Linked DNA regions of Homo sapiens: all the other regions are linked to region 4. The links are contacts of gene promoters, found by promoter capture Hi-C in blood cells and fetal thymus (Javierre and others, 2016). All regions are on one chromosome and are shown on one strand. Each heading gives the region's core, a stretch centred on a gene start or on the middle of the fragment in contact. The rest is flanking DNA. Distances are from core to core; before and after follow the strand shown.

Region 1 (2,770 bases), core at 195-2,694, 630 kb after region 4:
TCTAATTTCCTATTTATCTTAGCTTTGAACTTCTCTGTCTTCTTTTGACCAGCCTCTCTCTCAAGAAATGATCAGTAACGAACATCTACTGGAAACTTTCCATGTGAAGGAAAGAATCATTTTGTAATTTGAGTAATCATTGCTTGAATTAGATAAAGTTCCATGTATATTGGATTTTCTTAAAGTGAAGTACATCTGTAGTCTTATTTCTGTAAACTAAAGGCAAAAGCCTTATTTTGAGTTTCCCACCAAATTTAGTGACCTGGAAATTTCTGTTCTTCTTGTTACCTGAGAGAGATTGCATTTGGAGACTTTTTCATCTACATTGTTCCTTAAGTTACAAGATTCTATTATCCTTGATACCTGCATATTAAACTGGTAGATACACTTCTCTTGGATGTTTGAAGGCGTTAAAAAAATTTGTAACTTACTCATGGATTTATGAAGAGAAGAGAAGTTGGGGAAACTTAGAAGAGCTTCCTTCTATCATTTTATACTTATTCAGAAAAGCCAAATGTTACATATAGATAGGAAAATAGTTTTCAAACTGTTTAGGAAAATTCCAGTGTAAAGGAATAATAGTTATCTTTCAAGACCTTATAACTGGTCACCTGATAAGAAAATGGGTGAAGATGGTAGGACTTCATTCAAGACTTATCTTGTAGAGTTCATGTAGGAATTATTAAGACCAGAAATTTGTTGTTGCTCAATTTCTAGTAAGTGGCTTGAATCAAAATTTGGTTCTGCTCACTAACAACAGTTAAGTACCCTTGTAACTCCTTAGTGGGTGAAGTGGAGATTCTAGATCCCTCCAGCCAAGGACAAGGCAGGTAATTATTGCCAGGTATAACCATGTTCCATAGCATTCCAACATCTCAGAAGAATAAATGGATATTTCTACCTAAACAGAAGGTGTGCCTTTGTTCAAAAATGAATCTGGATAGGACAGAAGTTTTTATACCTTCTAGTAATACATTTCGTTTTTTTTCCTTCTTCCAACCTTGATTTTTGGTCAGAATATAAAATAAATTTCAAAACAAAATGATGTACGATTTCAAATAATTGCATGAAATATACTAGTAATAAAAGAGCCAATATGTAGTGTTTTTATGTGATAGGGAATATTAATATGAAACTATGTCCTATATAATGTTTTTCTCCTGATGTTTAAAAACTCTATAGTTATAGATCATCTATTTATTTGTAAACTGTACTAAATAATTTTGTATCAAATCTTCCAAGCTAAGTTTATTTTCAATGTATTGGTAGAGAAATGCATCTAGGTAGCTTTGTAGTCAGACTACACTCATCCATAGGCTAATGAAAAATTAACTTGGGGAAGCTTTGGGGAAAGCAGTCAGGTACTGAGTTTTTCTTGAACAAAAAACCAAAAATTTAGAAGAATATCCTTTTTGAAATCTAGTCTTCATAGGGAAAGCTAGCTTTCTTCCAAACTAAATCATCAGAAATGGTAGGATTAACTGATGTATAAGTAGAAATTTCTCTCTCTGAGATATTGTACTGTTTAACTCATGTAACAGTGAGAAGAAGCTTTGATTACTTCAGGGAAGAGGCTAAAAAAAGAAGAGGTTTATTATGTCCCCAGTGGGCCAAGGTTTCTAAAGGTATCTTAGCCTCTGTGCTCCTAAAATAAAACATAACCCTTACTAGCAGAGCCTTTCCTGAGAATTAACATGCTCTTAGTTTTCTTTGTATCAGACATTCTGGAAGTGTTTCTTTTAAAGAATCAAGACTCTGGTGAGAGCTAAGAAAATGAAGCCATGAAATTTCTTCCAATCCTAAACTTTTAAGGGACTAGAAAAAGAGAGTTGCTTTGCTTATAAAATGAAGAGGATCATATAGACTTAGTTTTACTGTTGTTTCTTTGAGCACTTACTTGGTATCATTCTTGTATTTGTTAAGCATCACCACAAAGTCACCTTAAATTCTTCTCACTTGTCCTTCACAGAAAACCAGCCACTGAGTCTGGAATCTTCTATATTCTTCTTTTCCTGCTTCTTTCAAATACATCTTATTCACTTCTCCCCTGACATCATTTTAAAATCGCTTTATTGAAATATTGAAATTGCCATTAAAAGTAATGGCAAAAATTGCAATAACTTTTGCACCAACCTACGAATTTAAAAACCAGAAATCTACCCATTGTAAGTGTAAAGTTTGATTAGTTTGAGTAAAATTATACATTTGTGCAACAGTCCCCACAATCCCGATTTAGAACACTTTCCCTTCCCCAAAAGTTCCCTGGGGCACAGTTGCAATTAATCCCCACTTGCTGAGTCTCTGACAACCATGGAACTACCTTCTGTCTCTATGGGTTGCCTTTTCTGGACATTTCATATAAATAGAATCAGGTGGTCTTTTGCATCTGGCTTCTTTCACTTAGCGTGATGTTGTTGAGATTCAGCTATGTTGCAACGTGTGTCATTACCTTGTTTTTTTATTGCTGAATAGTATTCCATTTTATGGCTATACCACAATTTGTCTGTCTATGTATCCATTGATGGGCATTTTGGTTGTTTCTAGTTTGGGGCTGCTATAAATAATGCTGTTATAAATATCTGTGTACCTATCTTTTTGTGGGCGTATGTTTTCATTTCTCTTGCTAGATATATAGGAGTAGAATTGCTGGGTCATGTGATGAATATATGTTTAATTTTTTAAGAAACTGACAAACTCTTTTCTAAAATGGCTGTACCATTTCTTCCTGCCAGCAATGCATGAGCCTCCAGTTTCTCTACGTCCTAGCTAA
Region 2 (2,816 bases), core at 8-2,507, 590 kb after region 4:
TACTGTGAAAGCCAACCCGGTAGATATTTTAAGGAGTTCTCTGGAAAATCGGAAATGTAGGGTGGAACTTCTATTTCTAGCAAGATGAGGAGTAAGATACTGTTAAAAAATACAAACTAAAAAAAAATGGAGAATAAATTGAATTTTTAAAAACTTTAAAATATATATTTGAGCCTACTCATGTGATTGAAACACAGGAAATGTATTAATCAATAGTAATATATAAAATAAGAAAAAGATAATCTAAATTTTTTGAGTTTCTTATACTGTTAAAGGGAGAAGATATCAATGAATTATAGATGTTGGTAAGTTGTACACACATACTAAATTTCTAAGGTAATCACTAAAAATACCAGAATGTACACTTTCCAAGAAAACCAAGCACTACAAAATAAGTAAGAAAAGCACAAAGAAGAAACTTAGAAAAGCAGAATAAATACAAAGGTAAAGTAGAAATACATGTGCTTATATTGTTACATAATAAATATGAATTGTTTTCCTATCCAAAGACAAAGATTGTGAAACTAATATATCTTTTTAATCCAACATGTGCTATTTACAATGGATACTTCTAAAACATAAGGACACAGGAAATATTAAACTATTGAAAAAAAATACCAGGCAAACACTAATCAAAGGAAACGTTATGTAATTTTAGACTGTCAGAAAGGTAAGACTTTAATAAAAGCATTATTAAAGATAAAAAAAGGCCTCATGCCTGTAATCCCAACACTTTGGGAGGCTGAGGCAGGTGGATCGTGAGGTCAGGAGTTCAAGACCAGACTGGCCAAGATGGTGAAACCCCATCTCTACTAAAAATATAAAAATTAGCCAAGCATGGTGGTGCGTGCCTGTAGTCCCAGCTACTCAGGAGGCTGAGGCAGGAGAATCACTTGAACCCGGGAGGCAAGGTTGCAGTGAGCTGAGATTGTACCACTGCACTCCAGCCTGGGTGACAGAGCGAGACTCTGTCTCAAAAAAGAAAAGCTACTACATAAGATTTCAGCTTTAATTTATCAAGGAAAATAAACACATCTAATCTTGAATATTTCTAATAATGCAGTTGCAAAATATATAAATAAAATGGCAGATGTATAAAGAGAAATGTGAGACTTTTTACCATCGCAGTGGTGGGAGAGTTCTATATCTATTTCTGATTTCATATATGTATATATATTTTCATTATATTAAACAGAAAAAAATCCAGATGGATACCCCAATTAACCTGATTTGATCATTACACATTGTTTGCCTGTACCAAAACATCACGTGTACCCCATAAAAATATACAACTATTTACCCATAATAATTAATTTTTTAAAAAGAGGAAAAAAATCTAGTAAAGTTACTATCTAACAGCATACGTAGGAAATTTCTTTCAATGATTTGAAAATGAAAGTTATTTTAGGTATTTGGATTATTTACAAAACTTACCATCTGATAGGATATTAAAAACACTAATACATCATAAATAATGTGTACTATACAGATTATTTTACCTAGTCACAATGCAATGAAATAGAAGTAGATAGTCAAAAGATGGCTTTTAAACTTTAAAATATTTAACCTTATGGCCGGGGGTAGTGGCTCACACCTGTAATCCCAGCACTTTGGGAGGCCGAGGCGGGCAGATCACAAGGTCAGGAGATCAAGACCATCCTGGCTAACGCGGTGAAACCCCGTCTCTACTAAAAATACAAAAAATTAGCCGGGCGCGGTGGTGGGCACCTGTAGTCCCAACTACTCGGGAGGCTGAAGCAGGAGAATGGCATGAACCCAGGAGGCGGAGCTTGCAGTGAACCAAGATCATGCCACTGCATTCCAGCCTGGGCAACAGAGCAAGACTCCGTCTCAAAAAAAAAAAAAAAATTTAACTTTAAAAATCCATAAAAAGTCATAGCTGAAATAATTTGAAAGCAAAGCAATAAATAGCCTACAATTAAATTATAACACAAAGTATAAAATAAATATCCATCAGTTTATACTGACATAAATAAATTATTGAATAAACAAATAACAGAGAAGAGACAAATCTACCATGCAGAGAAATTTCAAATAATTTGCATAAATATCCTCATGCCCTCTCCCCAAAGGAGCATAAGTCTCCATCCTGTAATGTGAACTGTGTATAGTGACTTCCTTCTAAAGGGCACGTAGAAAGTGAAAAAAAGAATAACTTAACAGTAGAGAAACTTGACAAACACTACTTGAGGGAAAGTGATCAAAGTTAACATCATTAATGATAAGTCATGTCAATACTACATCCCTTTGAAATGATGTGATGAAAATAGCATTTTACTTCTCCCCAAAAAACCATAACCCGCTAACCATGAGAAAACGATTAGACAAATCCAAAGGAAGAACATTCTACAAAATGACTGACAAATACTCTGTAAAATTATCAAAGTCATCAAAAGCAAGAAAAGTCTAACAAATTGTTACTATATAAAGGAGTTCAAAGGACAAGATAGATAAATGAAATGTATTCTGGAACAGAAAAAAAATAGATAAGCACAAAAGAAATATGAACAAAGTATGAACTTTAATTGTTAATAACATATTAATATTGCTTCCTCAGTTTTAACAAATTTACCGTAATATTTTTAGATGTTAATAATAAGTAAACTGAGTGTAGGGTATATGGAAACTCTCTGTATCCTACACATTATCCTTGCAACTTTTCTATGACTCTAAAAGTATTCTAAAATAAAAAGTGTAATTTAAAAAGTCCGTAAGTTTAGAAATAAAATAAAAATTGTCTTTAAAAACACACAAAATTATTAGTGAAAATTAGTACTTGGAACAGAATGATTATA
Region 3 (2,849 bases), core at 93-2,592, 610 kb after region 4:
GTTTCTGACATGAGGTCTTGGACAGCCCATGAAATACACTGCCCTGCATACCTTTTGTTCCAGGGGGCATGGGGACTTTATTTATTTAATAAACTTTTCCTAAACTGTTTACTGTGTGCAGGCCATAAGGGATAATAAGACATCATTTCTGCCTCCTACCTTTTTATGTTGTTTTAGCACAGATATGGCAAAGATATATCTAACTATATATTAGTTATTGAGCACCTACTGTGTGAAAGGCATTGGGCTAGGTACAAATAGAAGAGCCTTGCAGAATAAACAGGACTTCAATAGGCAGGGAACCAAAATAGGACAGGCCAGGTAGGCTGCGCAGTAAAAGGAAAAGCTCAAAGGCAGGAAAGTAAAAGTCCAATTAGAGGGCTCTGCGTAGGGAATCCAAAGCAAAAGGGCTTAGTGGGAACTTCTGGGTCTATAACCAAAAGCAGGGTTTCAAAGAGATATTTACTTCATCCATGTTCATAGCAGCCATATTCATAATAGCCAAAACAAGGAAGCAACCCAAATGTCCATCAGTGGACGAAAGGATAAACAAAATAGCCTTAAAAAGGAAGAAAATCCTGCCATACACTACAACATGGATAAGCCTTGAGGACAGGATGCTAATGAAATGAGCTACTCATCAAAAGAAAATACTGCATGATTCCACTTACATGATATAGTTGAGAAATCACAGTCATAGAAACAGAATATAGAATGGTGTTTTTCAGGGGCTGTAGGGGAGGAGAGAAAGAGGAGTCATTGTTTAATGGGTATAGAATTTTAGTTTTACAGGACAAAAATTTATGGACATGGATGGGGTGATGGATGTGCATTATGAATGTATTTAGTAACACTAAACTGTACACTTAAAATGGTAAAAACTGTAAATTTTATGTGTATTTTACCACAATAAAAAATGGAAAAAAATGGGCATAGTGGAAAAACTCAGGGTTCAAATCCTACCTCTTTCCCTTATGCACTGGTTCTTCATATACAGACTAAAAATAACAATTGCACTTTTCAGGGTTGTTGTAGGTATTTAAGAAAATCCACTTAATACATGCAGGCGGAGGTTAAAGATAGTTTTTCGTATTAGTCAGTTTGACTATAGCAAACAATTTATGAAGGAGAACATGGAAAATGAGGTGGCAAAAGCAGTTTAGAGCCTCAAGTGAAATGCCTTGAATGCCTATCTATAAAATGGAGCTTTATTCTGTGAACAGTGAGGAACCATTGATGGTCAGTGAACAAAAGAGTGACATGGTCATGGAACTGTTTTCAGAACAATGAGGAGCAGATTAGGAGCAGAGAGAGAAGGGACTCACCAAATAGCTGGCAATTGCTGCAGTGGTTCTGCTGAGAAAGTGGAAAGGAAAAGGTTTATTTGAAGTGACGGTACTTTGCTATGGGAACATTTTTATTCTACTTTAAATAAAATTCAAAGTTATATCAAGAAAACTTCAGGTAAAATGTAAGTTAATGTTTTCCATGCTTGATCAATTCCCAATTTTTTAATCAAACACTACATGTTTGGTGACAAAACATAAATGTGATGTGGCATCCTTCCATCAGCACACACTTTGTGTGTTAACAAACAGCAAGACGCTGATTTCATAAATCCCAGACCAGACAGCACCTCAGGTTCTGGGAACCTTCTGCCTCTAAGAGACCACCCAGCTTTCAAGGGTCCACACAGATCTAAGTGAAAAGCTATAGGAATAACCATTTTGGAACCAGGTTACCTCAAAGACTTTCAGATGTTTATTTGGACATTTAGGCACATTTGGAAGAGAGCAACATAATGTCCCCAAAGAGGAAATCATTGAATAAAGGCGTGTGTTAAAAAGAATTGTGCAGCCATTAAAATAGTGTGTTTATGAAACAATGCTCATGGTATATTAAATAAACTAACCTAGGAAAAAATGTTCATTAGGTTATCATTTCTGTTACAAAGTTAAACATATATGAACATACTATTATGTGTATAGGTAAAGAACTGAAAGAACACACATTACATTTTTTTTTTTTTTTGAGATGCAGTCTCGCTCTGTCACCAAACTGAAGTGCAGTGGCACGATCTCGGCTCACTGTAACCTCCGCCTCCCGGGTTCAAGCGATTCTCCTGCCTCAGCCTCCCGAGTAGCTGGGACTACGGGCACGTGCCACTGCGGCCAGCTAATTTTTTTATTTTTGGTAGAGACGAGGTTTCACCATGTTGGCCAGGGTCTGGATCTCTTGACCTCGTGATCCACCTGCCTTTGCCTCCCAGAGTGCTGGGATCACAGGAGTGAACTACCGCTCTCAGCCCACATTATATTTTTAACAGCGGTAGTCTATGACTGAAGAAATTATGATGGTTTTAAATGAGAGATTACAAACTGACAGCTTAAGGTTGCGTTTGACTTCTGGACATTTTTGTTCACTTAACCTTTTCTGTTCTGTTACCCCTCTTTACACTATTCTCCAAGGACCTACTCACTTTGTGTATATTTTGATTACCTGCCTGAGCACTGTAGGTGTTCCTGGGTGAAGTTTTCACCTTTGCGCTTTTCTACAACAAGCAGGCTTTAATTTTATATAAGAAAAAGCAAAAGTTTTAATAATTAGCTTCAATTTGCAGTGTGCACATTAGAATTAAAAAAATTTCCTTTAAAAAAATTAGATAAATCATTGCAGTCTGGCCTGGGTGAAAGAGCGAGACTCCGTCCCCCCCCAAAAAAAATTAGATCAGTCATTTCCCTTCTACTGCCCTTAGTCCTAGGGTACAAGAAATAACAGCACACTTCCCATCATCCCCATGGGAGACTCCTCAGCTGATAGGTCTCTGTATGACCAGCTCCACCTCAGCC
Region 4 (2,995 bases), core at 7-2,506:
GTGAACTTCCACATGGCTGCTGGGCATGCTTCCCAAAGCCAGCCCCTGGGCAGGGTTTCCCTTAATTTAGACCCCTGTCCCTACCTCTCCAAGTGCAAAGTGTACAAGGCTACACGCCCAGCTGCCCCCCACCCCCATACACACACTGGAGAGACCAAATGTTTGAGATCACTGTTGGGTAGCTGGGTCAAGAGAGCTTCATAACAATGTTGTTGGCATGTGGAGAGCTTTTCTTTTTCTTGGATCCCAACTGGAAATTATCAGCTTCGCCCCATGCTGACATGCGAATGTCCAGGCCTGCCTTTCTGCTGCAGGGCAATGCTCCAGGTTACAACATCGACACCAAGCAGTTTGTTGAGAAAACTTTGGACCTCATGAGCTGGGCAAGAGCGGCCTGGCAGGTGGTAGGAGAGCAGCCTGTCCATGCCTCAGCTGTGGCTCCACTGGCTCTGTGACTGTGCAGATTTTCTAACTTTTGAAGACCTCTGTTTGGATATCCATAAAATAGGTAAGATGGTGCTAATACCTACCTGTGATGTTGTGAAGATTTAATAGCATAATACTTAAAAGCACTTTGCATACATTAGCAAAGTGCCTAAATATTAGTTATTTGGCGGAGGCTATTAACCAGTGTGCTATGAGGTGCAAAGTAAGTTGTTACCAATAACTCAAAGAACTCCAGTTTGCAAATGTTTTACTTTTACTTAAGAGAATCTTTGCGGGAGAATTAAAACCAATTAATTCCCACCACTGGCCAAGAGCTCATGCTGTAATTATCCAAGACAGAATAGCTCAACAGAAAACCAAGTCATGCAATTCTGAGCACTTGTCCTTGGGATGCCACTTTGGGGCTCCCATATCTGAAATCATTTTGTTCTCAGTCCACCTGTGTGACATTTCTGTCCTGCTCAGCCACGGGTTCACAATAATCAAGGGAATGACCCAAGGGATTCACTTCTTCCAAGCAGCCGATGCCTTTGGAAGTTATGTTGACATTGCTTGTTTAAACCTAGGGCAAGAAATCCTTTCTCTGCCAGACCTGACTCTTCAGGCACACTCCTCAGTTTGGAGACGTGACTTGCCATGTAGTACTGAGAGGGAAAACAGGCCAGAAACAGCCTTGTTGAAAACTTCTTTTCTGCTTAGCTGCCCTCTGAACAGTCACCATAAAGATTGTGAGGTGCTGGAGCCAGGGATGACCTCATAAAGCCCTTTGCTAAATACTTAGTGAGCTGGTACTGTGGGCCAGGCACTGTGCTCATCATGAACAAAACCAAGGCAGACAACACTGTCATTAATGGAGCTTATCATGTAATACGGAAGCCTGGGATAAGCAACAAATTACACAAGTGACAAATGTGATGAGTGCTGTGAAGCAGAGTGCGGGGTGCCCAGGGAATCAGCAGAGCCCTGGAGGATAACAGCCTGAGCTCCAGGAAGGAAGGTTGTGGTGGTGCTTAGGGTCAGAGTGGGGACAAGCATTCCAAGCAAAGGGAAAAGCACATACACATGCTATATTAGTCAGGTTTCTCTAGAGGGACAGAACTAACAGGATAGATGTATAAATGAGGGGGAGCTTATTAAGTAGTATTGACTTGCATGAGCACAAGGTGAAGTCCCACAATAGGCTGTCTGCAAGCCGAAGAGCAGGGAAGCCAGTCCGAGTCCCCAAACCTCAAAAGTAGGGAAGCTGACAGTGCAGCCTTCTGAAGGCCCCAGAGCCCCCGGCAAACTGCTGGTGTAAATCCAAGAGTCCAAAAGCTGAAGAACTTGGAGTCTGTTGTTCGAGGGCAGGAAGTATCCAGCACGAGAGAATGATGAAGGCTGGAAGACTCAGCAAGTCTACTCCTTCCATGTTCCTCTGTGTGCTTTTATTCTGGCTGTGCTGGCAGCTGATTAGATGGTGCCCGCCCAGATTGAGGGTGGGTCTGCCTCTCCCAGTCCACTGACTCAAAAGTTAATATCTTTGGCAACACCCTCACAGACACATCCAGGAACAATAGTTTGCATCCTTCAATCTAATCAAGTTGACACCTAATATTAACCATCATACATCCCCTCCATGGGAAGGAGCATGATGCCTTATATAGTCTACTACCCTCAAACCAATCCTACTCCCTCATCCCCAACACCTTCTTCCCCTGGAACTCTAGATAGAGTTTCTTGACTAGACACATAAGCACAATTAGGCTATGCCTAATTATGAAGCCATCCCGGTTTATACATTTTCTTGTTATACTTGCCTATTTACAAGTTTTTCTTGTGAAAACTTGCCTATTCTTTTTGCTGCCTCCTCTCCACCCTAAAAGAGAAACTCTAAGGAAACACTCCCAGAGTTTATTATAGTTATTATGACTCAGATTTGAAGACTAGAATTTAATGGAGGTTTTCCTAACATTCCTTGGGGACTTGAAGGACTTTTTTTCCCACCAGCCACAGAAGTAAGATTATAAAACATTTATTTATTAAAAGAAAAGAAATCTTCTGGGCTCAAAGTTCTAGTTATTCTAAAAGCAGAGCACTTGTTCCATGTTTTCATATCGCCTCCCCACACCTACCTCTCCTCTCCCATTCTCTATTTCTTTATTTCTGTGCTGTAGTAATAAGCAAAACAGAGAAGCAATTGGTTTTAGTCTTGGATCTTGACCTTGCTGTGTGGCCTTGGCCAAGTCACTTCCCCTTTCTCAGCCTCAGTTTCTTCAAGTGTAAAATGAGAGATTGGATGGATCAGAAGATTCAGGCCTCCTTGAAAATCCCCATGGGTGAACCCCAACACACAGGCTATTCAGCCAGCAGCCCCAAGTCCTTTATGAAAAGCCAAGGTTGATTGAAACTCTCCCTTCTCAGGAGAGAAACTAGAGGCAAAGCTTCCTCATCAGCAGAGATAAACTTGGCAGGAGCCAATTCAGGTACCAGTAAAGGATATCTTCTTCTGCAGGCCAGCCTCCCTCTCTCCAGCTTGGTTCAATCCTGCATTCATTGACACTGCACTTCT

Evidence for each region. The method cuts DNA at HindIII sites, captures the fragments that hold promoters and counts their contacts. A CHiCAGO score of 5 or more calls a contact.
Region 1: a fragment that was not itself captured here is called in contact with the fragment with the promoter of LINC01352 in region 4 in 4 of 17 cell types (M1 macrophages, M0 macrophages, erythroblasts and 1 more); the score reaches 7.3 in M1 macrophages.
Region 2: a contact is called between a fragment that was not itself captured here and the fragment with the promoter of LINC01352 in region 4, in 6 of 17 cell types (neutrophils, monocytes, M2 macrophages and 3 more). The highest score is 15.3, in neutrophils.
Region 3: a contact is called between a fragment that was not itself captured here and the fragment with the promoter of LINC01352 in region 4, in 7 of 17 cell types (neutrophils, M0 macrophages, M2 macrophages and 4 more). The highest score is 12.4, in neutrophils.

The regions. Positions count from the first base shown.
Region 1 is chr1:221,458,952-221,461,721 of GRCh38, forward strand. All of the region lies in intron 3 of LOC105372932 (a long non-coding RNA gene), which reads left to right. Among named protein-coding and RNA genes, the nearest start is that of LINC02817, 120 kb to the left of the region's middle. The HindIII fragment of the contact is 209 bases long and covers 1,341-1,549 here.
Region 2 is chr1:221,420,482-221,423,297 of GRCh38, forward strand. The region is part of intron 3 of LOC105372932 (a long non-coding RNA gene); the gene reads left to right. Among named protein-coding and RNA genes, the nearest start is that of LINC02817, 86 kb to the left of the region's middle. The HindIII fragment of the contact is 6,744 bases long and covers 1-2,816 here.
Region 3 is chr1:221,441,020-221,443,868 of GRCh38, forward strand. The region is part of intron 3 of LOC105372932 (a long non-coding RNA gene); the gene reads left to right. Among named protein-coding and RNA genes, the nearest start is that of LINC02817, 110 kb to the left of the region's middle. The HindIII fragment of the contact is 6,194 bases long and covers 1-2,849 here.
Region 4 is chr1:220,827,999-220,830,993 of GRCh38, forward strand. LINC01352 (long intergenic non-protein coding RNA 1352) reads left to right here and starts at 1,257. Exons shown (of 4, transcript NR_110797.1): 1 at 1,257-1,444; 2 at 2,695-2,909. The HindIII fragment of the contact is 6,544 bases long and covers 1-2,865 here.